4 separate regions of the Homo sapiens genome follow, and regions 1, 2 and 4 are each linked to region 3. The links are contacts of gene promoters, found by promoter capture Hi-C in blood cells and fetal thymus (Javierre and others, 2016). All regions are on one chromosome and are shown on one strand. The core of a region is centred on a gene start or on the middle of the fragment in contact, and the rest is flanking DNA. Distances in the headings are between cores, read along the strand shown. Region 1 holds the start of MAFK (MAF bZIP transcription factor K). Region 2 holds the start of INTS1 (integrator complex subunit 1). Region 3 holds the start of TTYH3 (tweety family member 3). Region 4 holds the start of PSMG3 (proteasome assembly chaperone 3).

Region 1 (4,265 bases), core at 80-2,579, 1.1 Mb before region 3:
CACCTTTCCCATCCCCGGGGGATGTCTTTCTGCAAACATCCTGGGGACGTGGGACATTGTCGCTACTGCTGCTGTTGAGTTATTTCTTGGCACCTGTTTCTGCGGCCAGGTTGCAGGCATCACTGTGGCTAGCTGCCCCAGACGGCCGTGTGGGCCTTAGCAAGGAGGGGCCTCCCAGGTGGCCAGTGCAGAACCCGCAAGTGGGGGGGAGAGATGGCCCGGGAGGCTGCCCCCGCGCTCCACAGCAAGAGGCCACTGGGCTGCTGCCTAAATCCCCAGCCACATGGTGGTAAGGACGACACCCAGAAGATGCACAGACCTCCCTGCACTGGCTCCTGAGTCCCACCTGAGCCGAGAAAACAGGCTCCCGGGTCCCACCTGAGCTGAGAAAACAGGCTTCCCAGAACCCCGGGCAGATGCCATGGGTGTCCTGGGGGGCCCTCGGTTGCCCAGGCCTGAAACTCCTCTTCCTGCAGCGCTCAGAGGGGGGCGGGACTTGGGGACCCAGAAGCGTGGCAAGGGGCTCCAGACGGATCCCCTCTCCAGCCTGTCCTCCACCTGTGACAGGAAGCAGAGGCAGCTCCCTCAGGGGCCCGCCCCCACCTGAGGATCCCTCACAGGACTCCTTGGGCCAGTGGTGCCCTAACCCCATCCTGGGCCTGCTGTGTCCCCTGGCAACCACCAGCTGGGGCTTTAGAAGGGGGCTGGCCCCACCCACAGAGGCTGTGATCACTAGCCGCTTATCCCCATTTTTACATTGCTGGTTTGCTTGTTTTGTTTTTTTGAGACAGGGTCTCACCTTGTCACCCAGGCTAGAGTGCAGTGATGAAATCATGGCAGCCTCCACCTTCCAGGTTCAAGCCATCCTCCTGCCTCAGCCTCCTGAATATCTGGGGCCGCAGGCACATACCACCACGCCCGACTAATTTTTGTAATTTTTTTGTAGAGATGGGGGTCTCACTGTGTTGTCCAGGCTGGTCTGGAACTCCTGGGCTCAAGCGATCCTCCTGCTTTGGCCTCCCAAAGTGCTGGGATTACAGGCATGAGCCACCGTTCCCAGCTGGCCTTAATGTTTTTTATGTTTATAGAGACAGAGAATGGGGGAAGGGAGGTTTCGCTATGTTGCCCAGGCTGGTCTTGAACTCCCGGCCTCCAGAGATCTTCCCGCAGGGCCTCCCAAAGCGCGGGGATTGCAGGTGCGCGCGGGGCCAGCGGCCCCCCGGGCGGGAGAGGAGGGCGTGGCCGGGGGGCGTGGCCGCGGGGCGGGGAGGGGGCGTGGCCCGGGGGGCAGGGCGGTGTGACGCGCGCGCCGCGGATCCCGGAAGCGGTGTCAGATGCTGGGGAGCCGGGCGGGCGGGTGCGGTGGCGGCGGGCGGCGCGGGGGCACTTGTTGTTCTTCGCGAAGTCGGAGCCCGAGCGCCAGGCGGCGGCGGCGGCCGAGGGGAGCGCGACAGTGAGCGCCGGCGCGAGGACAGCGCGTGCCCGCGAGGAGCCGCCGCGCGCCCGCGCCCTCCGCGCGACGCCAGGTGAGGGGCGGTGGGGCAGCGGGGCCCGGGCCGCGGCGGGGACGGGGACCGGGGCGCGGGGCCGGGGCTACCTGGCCGCTGAGTCACGGCCGCCTGGGGGCGCGGGCCGAGGGTGGCGGGGTTGGGTGCGCGGGGCCCGAGACCCTCATGCGGCCCGCGGCGCGGCCCGGGCACCTGCCCAGGTGGGCCCCGCCCCGCAGGCCCGGGGGCTTCCCCGGGACGCGAGGCTCTCTCCCCTGCACGTGCCGCCCGGGCCATGCTTGCCGCGCCGGGGGCCCCAGGGCGCGGACCCCAGACCTGGGAGGACGAGGATCCACGCGGGTCGGCGGCGCGCATCGGGCCCGCGCCTTCACACCTGCGGGGGGCGGGGCGGGGCGGGCGCCACGTGCGGGCGGTGCGGGGAGGGCGCGGGCGCGTGGATTCTCCGCGGCTTCCGCCCCAGCGTGGCTTCCGCGTGCGGCCCCGGACTGCCCCCCGCGCTTCCTCCCGGTGACGGGCGGCGCTCTGGCCCAGTGGCTGGGGTCACGCGTGCCCGGGAACGGGGTGGGGGTAACCGGGTCTCCCCACAGGCGGGATCCTGGGACTGGTGTCGCTCTCAGCCGCCCACCTGCCAGGGTTGCTGGAAGGAAGGCCGTGGGGAGGCGGGAGGGGGGCAGGTGACAGTGGCCCCAAGGCTCGTCCCTTTGCTCACGTGTGGGGCAGGGGCTCCGGCCTCTTCCCGCTCCCACTGCGTGAGTTCTTCTGTGCCTCTGTCAAGTTCAGGAAACTGTGTATGTGCCCGTGACTGTGTGTGTCTGCGTCTGCACAGCCTCTAGATCCTGGGGGGTGGGACCAGGCGCCACCGAGAAACCCAGAAAGCCAGGACCCCGCCTGGCCTTGGCCCTTGACCTGGGTCCGCCTGGGACACAGCAGTGGCCCTGCACTGCATTCTCGCGCTCACACCGTGTGTGTCCGTGTTCGCGGGGCCTCCCGTGTCCCTCTCCTGGTGTCCTGCGTCCCTGAGCATGCTGTTTTCTTGCTTCTTAAGTAGCTCTTGTAGCTGAGGCAGAAATTAGATCCACTCACCATTCATTCACCAGGTGACCCACAGGCAGCCAGCCAATCTCTGGCCAGGTGCCTGGCCTTGGGAAGATCCTGAGACTCAAAACGCCCCCCACCGCCCCCCATCGTGGTCTAGGGGATATCTGTGTGGTTCGGCTCTGGCAGCGCCCTTCCCACCCCTCTGATTCTCCAGGGTGGGCTGCCAGGTCTCTTTACTGGCACTGAGGTTTCACCGTCACGGTGTGTTGTTGTAAGGGGTTCTCCAACACAGAGTGGGGTGCCCTATGCAGCTTCTCCAAACCCAATGTCTTCAGGGACATGGAGCATTAAAAGAGCCGTGGGCGGGGTCTGGAGAACATAGGTGGGCTGTGCAGGTGTCTGGGACACACCTACACCCTATTTGGGCGTCCAGTGCCATTTATGAGAACATCTCCCTTTCTTAGGTAACCCAGTAGGAATGTCTGAGTTTGACCTTGGGAGAGGGAGTCTGCTTTTAAAACTAGACCTCTCATTATTCCAAAATAAGACATTTATTAAAGCAGAAAAACCAGGCTTCTCCTGCCTTTTATCCTTGAACCGAGCCAGGGCTTTGAGGGGCTGGTTGCCCGCAGCGTCGACTCCCCAGGTGCTGGTAAACCCGGGAGCCAGCGTTTACCGAGGGTCAGGGTTGTCGGGGCGCCAGCCTTTGTGTGCACCCGGGAGGCTGCTGTTAAGGGAGACCGTCTTCCGGGCCACTTCGCTGTCTACAAGGCGTGTGCTTTCACCCACGGGGCTCAGCGATGGCTGCGTTTGTTTACAGTCTCTGGCAAAGCTGTTTGCCACCCAGACGGAGAAGAAGTTGTGCCTGTTCTTGTCCCAGCTGTTTCTGAGTCTAAAGGTTTCTGGAGTGGACTTTCTGGGTTTCGGGTCCAGTCCACACGGGAAATGGAAATCTGGCCAGCTGAGAGAGGGCTCCGTGTGGCCGCCTTTCAACAGTAAACAGTGACTCACCGCTCCGTCCCCACCCTCCCTGCTCTCCGCGAATGGAAGATGCCTTTCCCCGCTATTTATTTTTGCTTTTTATAAGTCACAGACTCGTCATGTTTCCGCTTTCCTACAGTTTCAGGAAACTGGGAGTGTCGTCTTAAAATCATAGAGTTTTAGAGCAGGTACAAGCGAACTTGAGTGGCCACATGCCCCACCCCCCGACCAGCTGCTGTAGATGAGGAAGCCCAGGCCATGAGGTCTGCTGGCCTGTCCCACAGGCCGGTGGGGTCTGGTGTAGAGCCTTCCTGCTTCTCCGCACTGTGCGTCGGGTGTCCTGGGGAAGGTATTGGGGTGGAGACTGCCCTCTCCCTGCCCTCCCATGCGGGGCCGGCTCATCTCGTACAGCGGGGGCTAGTGTGGGGTGTAGGGAAGACCTTCTCCCTGCTTGCAAGGAGCTCACCATGCCTTGGGGAGGCCCCCTGTCCCCAGAAGGATCTAGAACCAGGCCTTGGTAGAGGGTGCTTGCCTACGCGAGGAGGAGAGCAGTGGGGAGTGTTTCTGGAAGAAGCAGGGCAGGGAACCACGTGCTCTCTGCAGATGGTGATCAGAAACCTGAAACGGCATTGGGGTGGGGGAGTCGGGGTTTGGGAGGAACCCCCAAGACTTTTGACTGCCTGTGGGGCTGTGTGGGGGGCACCAGGATCAGGGTGAGGGCATCCCATTTGGCAAAGC
Region 2 (4,694 bases), core at 1,429-3,928, 1.1 Mb before region 3:
ACGCCTCATGGGAGGTCTGAGGCTCGACCTCCTAAAGCAGTCCCCCAGCTGTGCCATCCTGGGCCGTTTGCCCCCAGGGCTCCCTGATGCCAACTGAGTCCAGCACAAACACTGCCCACAGCGCCCAGCCTCAGCTCTCATGAGCGTGTGCTGCCCAGGCCAGGCCAGGCCTCCATTCCCTGGGCACAGTCCATTCTCTGCTTGGCATCTCCCTTTCCTGCCTGCCCCGGTTTCATCGCCTGTGCTTCCAGGCCCAAGCCCATACTGCAACTCCCTGCCAGGCCTCCTCCCTTCCAGGGCCGTCGGGGACTCACTCACAGGCTTGCACTGCAGCAGCCTGGTCCCTCCCTGAGGGCAAGGCCACAGCCCACAAGTCCCCTGGGTCCTGTCTGGCACAAAACTCAGTAACCAGAGGTGGCGCGGCTTGAACAGACACCTCACTACCAAAGTCATCAGGACACTTGTTCTTTTTGACTCCTACAAAGAAATTACCCAAAAGAGATGCTCCCACAGAAACAAAACACTGCAGACCATGAGGCTTGCTGGGGCTGGTGCGATAGCTGCCAGAGCGACTCCCAGGGAGTCACGGAGCCTTGAGAAATGGTCGTTGGGAAAATGGCGCAGAGGGGCAGGGGCGATTCTAGGCACACAGTTAAAGGCATTTCTGCGAGAACGGGACAGTGGTGAAGCTTACATTCCCCCGTTGATGTCCTTACTGTTCTGCTGCTTTTCAACTGAAAACAGGGAGGGGATCAACTCTTCTCTGTTGGTAACCAGGAGGGAAGGAGGAACCAAGTACACATCGCCTCCGCTCAGGTTGAGAGAGGAACGCACCAGGATGGGCAACCTTGAGAACAGACACCTGGGGTGTCGTCACGCCCGGTTTACCCCCAGGGCTCAGACAGTGCCCGTCACAAAGGGGGCGTCCAACAGACACATGAGACAAACAACTCAATAAGGGAGTGACCCGGTTCTCAAAGGGCAGCCACTGGCAGTGCAGGACGCAGATGCACACACGGGATAAGGGCATCTACGTGAGAAGCACTTCCAAGAACAAGCCACAAACATCCGCTCTCCCAAAGGACCTCGGCCATACGGGCAGCACTAGGCCTGGAGGGGGCCTTCCCTGAACACCTGATGGACGGCATGAGCTGAGGGGTGTTCTCGGGGGATGTCCACAGACTCATTACCTTCAATTGGCACCACAGATGGCTCTTTAATCGACGGAGAAATGGCTCGTTTTTCTGCCACTGCAGCCTCAGCCAGGCGCCCCAGGGCACTCAGAGGGGGTGTGGAGGAGAGTTTGGGGCGTTTGGTGAGACCGGTGAGGGCCGAGGCACTGGACAACGCGGCCGCCGCATCCCGCTTGCGCTCAGAAGGCAGGCCGGAAGGGGCTGGCTTCAGCAGGGTGGACGCCGTTTTCGATTCATTGGCCTGACCCTTTGAGCCCAGAGCAATGAAGTCTCCTGGGGGAGGGTGCCCTGCAGAGAAAGGAGAGAGAAAACCGGGCACATTTGCAACACCCAAGATGGAAAAAGACTGACTCTAACCTCCTGTTATGTCAGAGGGGATTAAACAAGGGTCAGAGGAGGCAAGGAAGAAGCCAGAGCTCACTCAGCAGCCTACAGCAGAGCTGGGACCAGCAGGATACGCACAGGTGATGGTGGACAGTCACGTAGCGCTAACCACAAACCAGGCCATCTCTGGTCTATCCAAATTAGTGTGCTTAGTAACCCCCGCCCCGAGTTTCCGCAATAGGTGCTATTACTCTAACTTTACAAGAGAGAAAGGGACACAGAGAGGTTAAGCGACGTGCCCAGCGTCACACAGCAGGCGAGTGGCAAAGTCCGGAGGATCTGAGCCGACAGTTCAGCCGCAGACCCCGTGCTACGCTACACTGTGCTGCCTCCCGCCTCCTGGCTGGGGAGACCTTCCGCTACTGTCGGCCGCCTTGCAGCTCAGCCTGAAACGAGATCACCGGGGTCCCGAAGGAAGTCGCCACTGTCCCAAGCCTCCCAGGGACTCTCAGAGCCGCTGAGGACCGAGAGCAGTGTTTCCAGACCGAATTCCTGGAAACAGCCGCGGCTGCGGAACAACCAAGCCCAACGCAGGATCCGCGGCAGCTGAGATCCCCAAAGACCCCCAAAGACCCCCAAAGACCCCCGGGCTGCAGAGCGAGGAGGGAGACGCACCTGAGGGTTTGGCCGCGGCGCTGGGCCGGCGCACCGTGGTGGGCTTGGCCCGGTTCATCCTGCCCCGTCCCTCGCGGCTCCCGGCGGCTGCGGCGTCACCTGCGGAGGAGCCAGCGTGCGGTCATTCCTTCACTCATTCGCTCGTTCGCTCGCTCATTCGCTCCCTTGCCGCACGGGGCTTGGGCCTGGGACCCGGGGACAGTGGTCCCGCGCCCGCCCGGCGGGGCGATGCTGCAGGAGCTGCAGGGACCCCGCCTCCCAGCCGCCCGGGAGCGGCTCAGTCGGGCGGCAGCAGGCGACGCGGACGCCGGGCTGGAGGCGGCAGAACCAGAAGGGACGGCCCAGAGGCCGGGAGCGGTAGCCGGGAGAACCAGGCGCTCGCCCGGCAATGAGGAAGCGCCCAGGCCGCGGCTCACTTACCTCTGGCCCATCGCGACCGGAGCGCCGCCGCCGCCACCCGGCCACCCCGGAATCGGAAACCGATCTCACCGCCCTCGAGGACCCGACTTCCGGAACAACCGGAAGGAAAACAGTGCGGCGGGAAGCGGGCCCAGAAGGAGGCGCGAGAGGCCCGCGGCGCCGGCCTGATGCCTGCAGCGCCCCATGGCGGCGGGAGGCGGGCTGGCCGGCGCCGCGCGCATGTGGTCCGGTCCAGGTGGGTCGGCGGCGCGGGGCAGGCGCTGGCCTCTCCATTCACAGGTGGTGCTGGCGTTGCGAAGGGACGCACTCCAGGACGCACGGCGGGGAGGAGTGGCGTCAGGGATCCGCGGATGAGTCAAGTGGCAGGTTCTGCACGTCCCGGAGAGCGGGGGCGGCCGGGGCGCAGGCACTGGCGAGGGGGCGCAGCCCGGGGGGCTCCCGGGGAGAGACCCTGTCTCAAATAATAATAATAATAATAATAATAGCTTTATTGAGATAGAACTCGTGTTCCACAAAGTTCACCCTTTTCTTTTTTCTTTTTTTTTTTGGCACGGAGTCTCGCTCTGTCGCCCAGGCTGGAATGCAGTGGCGCGACCTCGGCTTATTGCAACCTCCACCTCCCAGGTTCAAGCGATTCTCCTGCCTCAGTCTCCCGAGTAGCTGGGATTACAGGCGCCCGCCACCATGTCTGGCTAATTTTTTTGTGTTTTTAGTAGAGACGGGGTTTCACCATGTTGGCCAGGCTGGTCTCGAACTCCTGACCTCAGGTGGTCCGCCCGCCTTGGCCTCCCAAAGTGCTGGAATTACTGCGCCCGCCCCGCCCCCACGCCTTTTTTTTTTTTTTTTTAATGGAAACACTGATGGGAACAAAACTCAAAAGACACAAAAGATCATACAGTTGCCAGGTGTGATGCTCATGCCTGTAATCTCAGCACTTTGGGAGACCAAGGCAGGAGGATCGGTTGAGTTCGAGACCAGCCTGAGCAACATAGCAAGACCCCCATCTCTACAAAAAAATAAAAATTAGCTGGGCATGGTGGCATGAACCTCTAATCCCAGCCCTTTGGGAGGCCAAAGTGGGAGTCTGAGACCAGCCTGGGCAACATAGTGAGACCCTATCTCTACAAACAAAAATCAAGAATAAATTAGCCAGGCATGGTGGTGCATGCCTACGGTCCCAGCTACTGAGGAGGCTGAGGTAGGAGGATCTCTTCAGCTTGGGAGGTCAAGGCTGCAGTAAGCTATGATGGTGCCACTACGCTGCAGCCGGCCGACAGAGCGAGACCCTGTCTAAAAAAAAATAAAAATAAAAGGTGGGGGAATCATCCAGTCAAAGGGTCGAAGGTCTCCCCTGACCCCTGAGCAGCTGGTCCCCTCCCCTGGAGTCAGCCTGTGTTCTGATTTGTGCCTGTGTTCCCGGCTTTTCCGTGTGCGTTCAGGCAGCCACCCGTGTGCCTCCCTCTGCCTTGTCACCCTGCAGGTAGCGCACGGCTCCTCTTTTCTGCACCTGGCTTTTGCCACTTAACCACATCTTGGAGATCTGTTCCCAGCAGGGCACTGACTCGAACGCTGCCCCGCCACCGAGGGAGTCCTGAGCACCGCCTGCCCGGTGTGTCCCATCTCCTCATCCAGGGACCGCAAGGCAGAGCTGGTCTCCCTGTGCCCCTGAAGTTGGGTGTGGCCATTTGACTGTGGCCTCAGTGAGGCTCATGGCCCCAGGCTGCAGCCTGAGAACTGCTGTGTGACCCGCCACGGTCTCTTTCCACTCCTGTGGGCACCAGCTGGGTCCCCGCAGGACCCCAAGGGCTCCAGGGCCCTGCACCCTGCGCTGTGTGGGCAGCGAGTCCGGAAGGAGACGTCCGTGGTGCCCATGGGAGGAGAGGCCGGTCAGGCGCGGATCCCTGCCGGACGCCAGGCGGGGGCTGTGCGGCTTCATCCCTCTACAGTTTCTCAATCTGTCCCTCAGGGTAACTCTCTAAGGGGAGGGGAGATCCGATGGGGTAATGCTTCCTCCTCCTGTCACCTGAATGGGAGCACCCTGCACAGAGCTTCCTCTGCCCCGCCACCTGCCTCTCCTCATCC
Region 3 (4,259 bases), core at 207-2,706:
AATAAGGCCCCAGGTGATGAAGCAGAGCCAGGATGCACCCACTGCCCTAGAGTGCGGAGGGAGGCGTGCACCTGGGCCCAAGCACGCACTATGTCCATCCTCCTGGCTCTGGCAGCTCCCATCTCCCCTTTAGCAAAGGAGGAGGCACAGGCATGGGGAGGCCCTGTTAGGAAATTTGGCTGTGTGGCTCCAAAGCCCATGATGGGCCCTCTCTGGCAGGTGCCTGAATTTTTAGGCCCCAGGACACCAGAACAGGGCACCGTCTTCATCTTAGGTCTTGACAAAAGACTCAACCTTCCCCAGAGGGAAGGCCGGATGGGGACTGAATCTACCTGCGGATCCACTTAACACTCGTACCTTTTTAAAAAAAATTTTTTTTATTTTTGAGATGGAGTCTCACTCTGTTGCCCAGGTTGGAGTGCAGTGGCGCAATCTCCACTCACCGCAACCTCCATCTCGCAGGTCCAAGCAATTCTCCTCCCTCAGCTTCCAGAGTAACTGGGATTACAGGCGCCCGCCACCACGCCTGGCTAATTTTTGTATTTTTAGTAGAGACGGGGTTTCACCATTTTGGCCAGGCTGGTCTCGAACTCCTGACCTCAGGTGATCCGCCTGCCTCGGCCTCCCAAAGTGCTGGGATTACAGGCATGAACCACCACCACGCCCTGCCAACACTCGTAGCTTTATCATCCCCTTTTACAGACAAGGACACCGATGCACAGAGTGGTTAAGTAACTTGCCCCAGATCACACAGCTCTAGGTGCCCCAGCCAGGCCCTGAATCCAGATCATGTCCATTGTACAGATAGGCCACTCGGTGCCTTGCTGGGCGCTGCGGGCTGTGGGCTGTTGTGTGTGCAATGGGGAGGCCAAGACCAGCCCAGCCCACCAGGCCGGACCCTCGAGTCAAATAAGAAACATGCAAAGATCCAAACGAAGAGCGAATTCATGGAATGAAGCGCAGCTGCATATGCAGCCAGGGTTCCAGCCCCCACGGCCACGTGGAAAGACTGGCTGGCCCGGGTCTTACAGCGCTGAGGGTCGGTCTTCCAGCGCCTTAGGGGCCAGGCGTCCCTCCAAGAAGGCGAGGAAGTAGGCGGAGCTTCTGCCGGCGGACTAATGACGGTACAGAGGCGGGGCCGAAGGGCGGGGACACGTGGAGGGGCGGGGCCATTGGGTAATGGGCGGGGATGCGAGTGGAGGGGCAAAACCATCAGGTAAAAGGACCAATAGAGGTTCAGGAGCGAGTGGGCGGGGCACGCTGTGGGGCGGGATCGGCGGGGGATAGACCAATGGTGGGTAAGAGGCGGGACAGAGGGCGGGGCGCGCGGGGGCTGGGCTGGCGGGAGGCGGGCCAATGGAGGCTCGGGGGCGGGGCCGGCGGGCGGACGGGCGGGGGTGCGGAGGGGGCGGCGGCGGCGGCGGCGAACAAAGAGGCGGCGGGCGCGGGCGGCCGAGCGGAGCCGAGCGCAGCCGAGCCGGGCCGAGCCGGGCCGGGCCGGGCCCAGGAGCGCGCGGATGATGCGGGCGGCCAGGCGGGGGTCGACGGGTCCCTGAAGCCCGCGCCCCGGGCCAGCAAGGGAGCCCCGCGCAGGCCGCGCGCATCCGGAGGCGGCCGGGCCCCGCCATGGCCGGGGTCAGCTACGCGGCGCCCTGGTGGGTGAGCCTCCTGCACCGGCTGCCCCACTTCGACCTGAGCTGGGAGGCCACTAGCAGCCAGTTCCGGCCCGAGGACACCGACTACCAGCAGGTGACATGGGCCTCTCGGGGTCGCGGGGTCAGGGACCCCAGGTCACGGCCCCCTCCTCTCCCAGGGTCACGGCCCCCATCCCCGAGGGCCTAAAGACCCCTCATCCCCCCCTCCAGGGTCACGGCCACCTCCTCCTCGCAGGTACCGGCCTCCTTCCTTCTCGAGGGTCCCTTCTGAGTCCTAGGACCCTTTCTTCCAGGGTCATGGCCTCCTCCTCAAAGGTCTAAATACCCTCCAACCCCCAGTGAGGGTCCACGGCCCCCCTCCCGATTCTGGCCTTCCCTTCTGGTGTCACTAAGGCCCCTGGGTTTCATGGAGCTGCCTCTCCCCACTCCGTGAGCCCCCTTGGCCAGTGGAGGGCCTCTCCACCATCACTGTTGGCGGCCTGGTGCTGTGTCCCAGCAGAGACCCCTCCCCAGATGACCCCCAGGCTCTGAGATCAGAGCGGGTGCCTGAGCACATTGGGTGCAGGCAGGCAGAGACTCCTCGCCCACTCACCCCCGACTGGGGAATCCCACTGCCAGGCTTCCAGTGGGTGAATGGCCTGGGCCGCCGCCAGCCCTCTGTGGCCGGTAATGACCCCCTGCTTGGCGGTCAGGCTGTGGGATGTACACAGGGTGCCGTGTGTGGCCGTGGGAGACCAGGCTGCCTGTAGCCCCCGGGGGAGGGAGGCCCGGCGGCCAGGAAGCACCGTGGGCCTCAGGCAGGGAGGCTGGAAGCGGCTGAGCCCAGGCAGACCTGGGGGGCGGCTGGGGGCCCTTTGCAGCCCTCTCCCAGGGGAGCCCTTAGCCTGGCATCATGCCAGGCCCCAGCACCACCCCCATCGCCAAGCTACTGTCATTTGAGTGCGGGGCAGGGGACCAAGCTGTGGGCATTTCCTTCCTGCCTAGAGATCCGGATTCCAGAAGCCCCGTGACCAGGGTCCCTGGTCACCCGGAGTTTCTCTCTGGACGGATCATGGCAGAGCCCCATGGTGGGGTGGGGATGGCTTTGCTTATCAAAATGGCTTGGGAATCCGGTATTCCGCGGGCAGCCTAGCACCTGGACTCTTCAGAACTGCGTTGTCTGTGGCCTCCCGCATCCAGAGGAGGGAGGCGGAAGTGGAGGAGCAGGGCACCTGGGAGCCCACTGCTCCCAGCCTCGCGCTCACTTGCACCCAGGCCCCCCAGCCGAGCCGATGACGTTTCCTAACAGATGAGGAAGGGGGCGAGGGATCGGCCCAGGCACGCCCAGACACAGCAGGGAGGAGGGAGGCGGAAGGATTGGTATAAAATCTCACGCCTGCGTTCTAGAAGCCCAGCCCTGGGGGACCGTTCAGTGTGGGGGCAATGCACATTCAGGAACTTCTGGAACTTATTCCATGCTGATGGCTTTGCCACTTGTCCCTGGAGGACTCTGTTGAAGCTGCAAGGAGGGTGTGCTTCACTTTGGAAAGTTCTCTGCCCTGAGGGTTTGGCCCATTTGTCAGTTCTTAAGCTCCGGGGCAGCCCTGGGGCGTGGGGGGCGGCTGTTTCCTGCTGCCCCTTGGGCTGCCACCTGCCCGAGCTGCCAGCCACAGTTGGACTTCCTTCCAGCCCTCCGGGGTGCCTGCATTCCCACATTCGAGACAGGCAGTGAGAGGGAGTGAGGGGCGATGATGTCTGCAGCCCACAAGAGCCTCCGGGCAGTAGCCAGGCCCCTCTGCTCAGCCTGACCTGCCTGGCCTCCAGCAGGGTGCTATGGCCCTGGGAGGCCCTGGCTTCTGCCCCCTTTCCTCCCCTGCCCTGCGCTCTGCTCTGCTGTGGGAGGGCTCTGACTCACTCTCTCTCCTGCCTCATCTCCACAGAGCAGAATTAGCCACTGAATAATTCACGATGTGGAAACCGGCCTGCCTCCATCCCCCGCCGCCTCCACTCCCGGCTCTTGGCGAGGGGCTGTGGCGTGAGCTGGTCCTGGCGTGCGTCCTGCCCCTGCCCTTCCAATACTGGTGCTTTTCGGCAACTGCTTGGTGTCTCTGAGCCTTCATTGCCTCATCCTGAATCTGGGCTGGCCGTGCCTCCTGTGTAGGGTCACCCCTGGGAGGCAAGGGCCAGGAGCCCCCTTCCTGGGAGAATGGGCAGTGGGTGGGCCTGGGCTGTGGCAGGCGCCCCTTCCTGCCTCCCCTGGTGAGGAGTTGCTGGCTGTAGTGGGGGGTGGACCCCTCACCCATCCTGACTGAGGGCTCCCTCTTAGCTGTCTCTGTGCTGCCCCAACCTGGGCTGTGCCCTGCTGGGGAGTGGGCATCTGCCCCGTGGTTATGGGGGCGGGGGGATGGAGGGGAGGTGGGGCCTGGGGTTGGGAGTTGGGGGTGTGGCACGGGGGACTGGCCTTTGTCCTTTGCTATTTCTGGCCCCCGTGGTCTGCTGTTGGGAACCCTGGTGAAACCCCCGGAGGGACCAGGGCCAGGTCCTGTTTCAAGGCCCTGCGTGGGACTGCCTGTCACTAGTCACTTTTCCCACAGCCCCAGGAGGTGGGGAGAGTTGTCCATTGTA
Region 4 (4,509 bases), core at 126-2,625, 1.1 Mb before region 3:
TTTTTTTTTAAGACCAAGTCTCTATCTGTTACCCAGGCTGGAGTGCTGTGGCACGATCTTAGCTCACTGCAACCTCCGCCTCTCGGGTTCAAGCGATTCTTCTGCCTCAGCCTCCTGAGTAGCTGAGATTACAGGCATGTGCCACCACACCCAGCTAATTTTTATATTTTTCGTAGAAATGGGGTTTCCCCATGTTGGCCAGGCTGGTCTGGAACTTCTGACCTTAAGTGATCTGCCCGCCTCAGCCTCCCAAAGTGCTGGGATTACAGGTGTGAGCCACTGCACCCAGCCTCTCTCTATATATATATTTTGTGTAGGCACTTGTTTTTTTGTAGTGACTTGTGTGTGTGTTGTTGTGTTGCCCAGGCTGGTTTCAAACTCCTGGCCTCAAGCGATCTGCCCGCCTAGGCCTCTGAAAGTGCTAGGGTTACAGGCGTGAGCCACAGTTCCCGGCCAATCCACTTTACCTCATCCTGCCCCAGAAGGACTTTTGTGGTGAGCACAGGCTTGCTGACGTCACTGGCCACGCTGCTGGGCTCCAGGGAGACCAGGGTGCCCATCTTCCCAAACTGGGTCACCACCACCAGGATGTGACTGCTGAAGGCCGTACACACCACCTGGGTGGGGACCCCGCACACCACCTCCGTCTTCTGCTTCGATATCACCAACGGCGTGTCTTCCATGGCGGGGCTCTGCAGTGGCAGCTTTAATTTAGGTTAAAAAGAAAGGGGAAAAAAAGGAGTCAATCAAACAGTACAGCCTTGGGGCTCCCAAAAAAGTAGCACGGGGCATTGAAACGGAAACGCAAGGAGGCCCATTCAAAAGAAGGGGCCAGGCGCGGTGGCTCATGCCTGTCATCCCGGCACTTTGGGAGGCCGAGACAGGACGATCGTTGAGGCCAGGAATTCGAGACCAGCCTGGCCAACATAGCGAGACCCCCATCTCTACCAAAAAAAAAAAAAAAAAAAACCAGCAGGGCGCGCCTGTGGTCCCAGTTACTCAGGAGGCTGAGGCGGGAAGATCGCTTCAGCCCGGGAGGTCGAGGCTGCGGTGAGCCGTGATCACACCATTGCATTACAACCCGGGCGGTAGAGCGAGACCCTGTCCGTAAAAAAATAAAACAGAAGCAGGAGCGGGGCCGCCCATAGAGACCGCGCCTGGGGCTTTCTGGGTTAGGGGATCGACTTGCACGTTCACACTGCCAGGCCGGGCAGTGGCTTCCCGCCCCTCGGCCTCGCCGCCGCCCCGGCCCTGCAGCCGCGGCCCGGGACCCCCACGACACGCGGTGCCGAGGCCGGCCGGGCTACTGGGGACGCAGCCGCCCGGGGAAGCCCGCGGGTACCCGCGCTCACCAAGCCGGCGCCGCGCCCGGAAGTGGCTCTGCGTGCGCCACGCGGGCCCGCCCCGTCCGCGGGTTCCGTCCACCTTCCGGAAGTCAGGGCCGCGGCGCTTCTGGTCCCGGAGACTTGGGGCTCCCGGGCTTCTGAGCGGCTCGGGTTCCGCGCTGCCGGCAGGGCTTGGGGGCGCCTTAGAGCCGAACCCCGTTTTTTCAGGAAAGGGCGCTGCGACCACCCCCGTCCCGGGCCTCAGCCCCTCTGCTGCAGACCCTCGGGATCGTCGCTGGTAGGAGCTCTGTCCCCCGTGTCTGTGTCCAGGACCCCCGAAGCGCCGCGCCTAGGAACCCCCTAGCGCTGGGAGCCCGGCCCTGCTCGACCACGGGCTTTGGGCTGGAGGCGTCATCGTCGCCACAGCGAACGCTTATTTGGCACCGAGTGTCCGCCAGGCATCGCTCTAAGCGCTTTATACCCATAACTCACTTCATCTCAGCCACCCGGTTCCGTAGAAGCGTTTCATCCGCGTTTTACAGACGTGTGCAGGTGCAGAGAGCTCGGCCAGGCTCAGGCGGCGGGCGGGCTGGGGTGGGCTCCGACCGTCCCTCGGGCGCTCCGTGACACGAAGCCCCGGCCAAGGCCAAGAAGGGGGCCAGCCCCACCCTGAAGCGGGATGAGTTCTGGTTCCTCCCAGGGACCCCCTCACTCCCTACTGCTCACTCTCAGTTTCTCCAAGCTGGAAGGTTTTTTGTTTTGTTTTGTTTGAGACGGAGTCTTGCTGTGTCACCCAGGCTGGAGTGCAGTGGCGCGATCTCGGCTCACTGCAGCCTCCGCCTCCCTGGTTCAAGCAATTCTCCTGCCTCAGCCTCCTGTGTAGCTGGGATTACAGGCGTGCGCCACCAGGCCCGGCTAACTTTTTAAATTTTTAGTAGAGATGGGGTTTCACCATGTCGGTCAGGCTGGTCTTGAACTCCTGACCTCAGGTGATCTGCCTTCCTCGGCCTCCCAAAGTGCTGGGATTACAGGCGTGAGCCACCGCGCCCCGCTGCTGGAAGTTTTATTGGTAGGGTCGGACATCTTGGTAGCAGAGGCTGAAAGTGATTGGAGCCTCCAGAGCCTTCCTCGGGGTGGGGCGTTTAACATCCCTTCAGAACCCCACCCTCGGAGGCCTTACTGTCGTTTCCTGACAACCATGTCAAGGCCGTATTTTCTGTCTATATTACCAGAAAGGGGTCCCGATCCAGACCCCAAGAGAGAATTGAGGGCGAGTCCACAAAGTGAAAGCAAGTTTATTAGAAAAGTAAAGGAATTGAGGCAGGAAAACAGGGTCTGGAGGCAGGGAACACTTCAGCTATGACAGGAAATACCCTCTCCATAGGGTGTACACTGAGTAAATGATTTTGTAACTTTATTTCATCCTCTTTATTTACATAGGGCGTACACCAAGTAACCAGTAGAAACCCCTAGAGGGTATTTAAACCTCACAAGTTCTGTAATGGGGCCCTGAGCCTCTATGCTTTGGCCGCCCCCACACCATGGAATGTACTTTCATTTTCAAAAAATTTCTGCTTTTGTTGCTTCATTCTTTTTTTGCTTTGTGCATTTTTTTTTTTTTGAGACAGAGTCTCTGTTGTCCATGCTGGAGTGCAGTGGCGTGATCCTCACTGCAACCTCTGCCTCCCGGGTTCAAGCAATTCTCCTGCCTCAGCCTCCTGAGTAGCTGAGATTACAGACGTGCGTCACCATGCCCGGCTAACTTTTGTGTTTTTAGTAGAGACGAGGTTTCGCCATGTTGGCCAGGCTGGTCTTGAACTCCTGACCTCAGGTGATCTGCCCGCCTCGGCCTCCCAAAGTGCTGGGATTATAGGTGTGAGCCACCGCGCCCGGTGGCTTTGTGCATTTTGTCCAATTCTTTGTTCAAGATGCCAAGAACCTGGACACCCTCCACCAGTAACAGAATAAAGAATGGCTACTCCATAGGCAGAGCAGCATGGGCTGCTGGTTGCCCATTTTTGTGGTTATTTCTTGATGATATGCTAAACAAGGGGTGGATTATTCGTGCCTTACCTTTTTAAACCCTTTAGGGTAACGTCCTGGCATTGCTATGGCATTTGTAAACTTACGGCGCTGGTGGGAGTGTAGCAGCTGGGACGACCAGAGGTCACACTCATCGCCATGTTGGTTTGGTGGGTTTTGGTCAGCTTCTTTACTGCAAACTGTTTTATCAGTAAGGTCTTTATGACCTGTAGCTTGTGCCGACCTCTTATCTCATCCTGTGACATAGAATGCCTTAACTGTCTGGGAATGCAGCCCAGCAGATCTCAGCCTCATTTTACCCAGCCCCTATTCAAGATGAAGTTGCTCTGGTTCAAACACCTCTGACATTTACACCACTGAAGCTCCAAGGAAGATCTTGACTCCCTCTTCTCACCATTTGATGACTTCGTATCCAATCCAAGTCAAGTCAAATGAAGCATGCTCCTTCCAATGATGATTTCTGGAGGCCTAAAATAAAAAGCATGCATACAGAAAATGATCAAAATAGACATAAATCAAGGGGAAATTCATTTTTGAGCATTCTTGCAGCCAGTACACAAAAGGAGAGATGATGAGTTTCATGGTTCTAATACTCAAAAAACAGGAAGCATATCAACTTCCCAGGAAAGTCTAAGTTTCTGTCGGCTCTAAATTTAAACACACATCCACCCACACATACCCCACAAGCAAATTGCCAGTGGATTGCTTTGCCATCTGAAATCTTCAAAAGGTTCACTCGCTTTTATTCACCTGTTTGTGTATTCTCCCTCTCTGTAGGCAAATAGATACAAGAAATCTGATCCTGTCCTCTCAAAGAAAACCCTCTGAAATAAACTTATCACCTTTAAAAAAGGGATGTTGAAGAACAAGATGGATTTTTGTTGTTGTTGTCGTTTTTTGAGATGGAGTCTCGCTCTTGTCGTCCAGGCCGGAATGCGGTGGTGCGATCTCGGCTCACTGCAACCTCCGCCTCCCAGGTTTAAGCGATTCCCCTACCTCAGCCTCATGAGTAGCTAGGATTATAGGCACCTGCCACCACGCCCGGCTAATTTTTGTATTTTTAGTAGAGACTGGGTTTCGCCATGTTGGCCAGGCTGGTCTCAATCTCCTGACCTCAGGTGATCTGCCCGCCTCGGCCTCC

What was found. Contacts are between HindIII fragments. The CHiCAGO score rates a contact against its expected background, and 5 or more counts as called.
Region 1: the fragment with the promoter of MAFK here is called in contact with the fragment with the promoter of TTYH3 in region 3 in 2 of 17 cell types (monocytes and M1 macrophages); the score reaches 6.6 in monocytes.
Region 2: the fragment with the promoter of INTS1 here is called in contact with the fragment with the promoter of TTYH3 in region 3 in 2 of 17 cell types (neutrophils and monocytes); the score reaches 11.2 in neutrophils.
Region 4: a contact is called between the fragment with the promoter of PSMG3 here and the fragment with the promoter of TTYH3 in region 3, in 1 of 17 cell types (neutrophils). The highest score is 7.6, in neutrophils.

The regions. Positions count from the first base shown.
Region 1 is chr7:1,529,373-1,533,637 of GRCh38, forward strand. MAFK (MAF bZIP transcription factor K) reads left to right here and starts at 1,330. Exons shown (of 3, transcript NM_002360.4): 1 at 1,330-1,526. It overlaps LOC100128653 (a long non-coding RNA gene), which reads right to left. Exons shown (of 1, transcript NR_149036.1): 1 at 3,081-4,265. RefSeq lists silencers at 1,160-1,429, 1,920-2,049 and enhancers at 3,366-3,515, 3,441-3,735, 3,706-3,815. The HindIII fragment of the contact is 17,285 bases long and covers 1-4,265 here.
Region 2 is chr7:1,501,711-1,506,404 of GRCh38, forward strand. It overlaps INTS1 (integrator complex subunit 1), which reads right to left and starts at 2,679. Exons shown (of 48, transcript NM_001080453.3): 1 at 2,613-2,679; 2 at 2,193-2,291; 3 at 1,191-1,481. The coding sequence starts at 2,250. RefSeq lists a silencer at 2,325-2,884 and enhancers at 3,771-4,367, 3,993-4,182, 4,368-4,694. The HindIII fragment of the contact is 9,546 bases long and covers 688-4,694 here.
Region 3 is chr7:2,630,530-2,634,788 of GRCh38, forward strand. TTYH3 (tweety family member 3) reads left to right here and starts at 1,457. Exons shown (of 14, transcript NM_025250.3): 1 at 1,457-1,749. The coding sequence starts at 1,627. RefSeq lists enhancers at 882-1,613, 2,346-3,078, 2,858-2,967, 3,811-4,259 and a silencer at 1,398-1,807. The HindIII fragment of the contact is 11,109 bases long and covers 1-4,259 here.
Region 4 is chr7:1,568,657-1,573,165 of GRCh38, forward strand. It overlaps PSMG3 (proteasome assembly chaperone 3), which reads right to left and starts at 1,376. Exons shown (of 2, transcript NM_032302.4): 1 at 468-1,376. The coding sequence starts at 683. It overlaps PSMG3-AS1 (PSMG3 antisense RNA 1), which reads left to right and starts at 1,417. Exons shown (of 5, transcript NR_027329.1): 1 at 1,417-1,623. RefSeq lists silencers at 1,048-1,477, 1,918-1,997 and enhancers at 1,106-1,674, 2,298-2,367, 2,378-2,427. The HindIII fragment of the contact is 7,479 bases long and covers 1-4,509 here.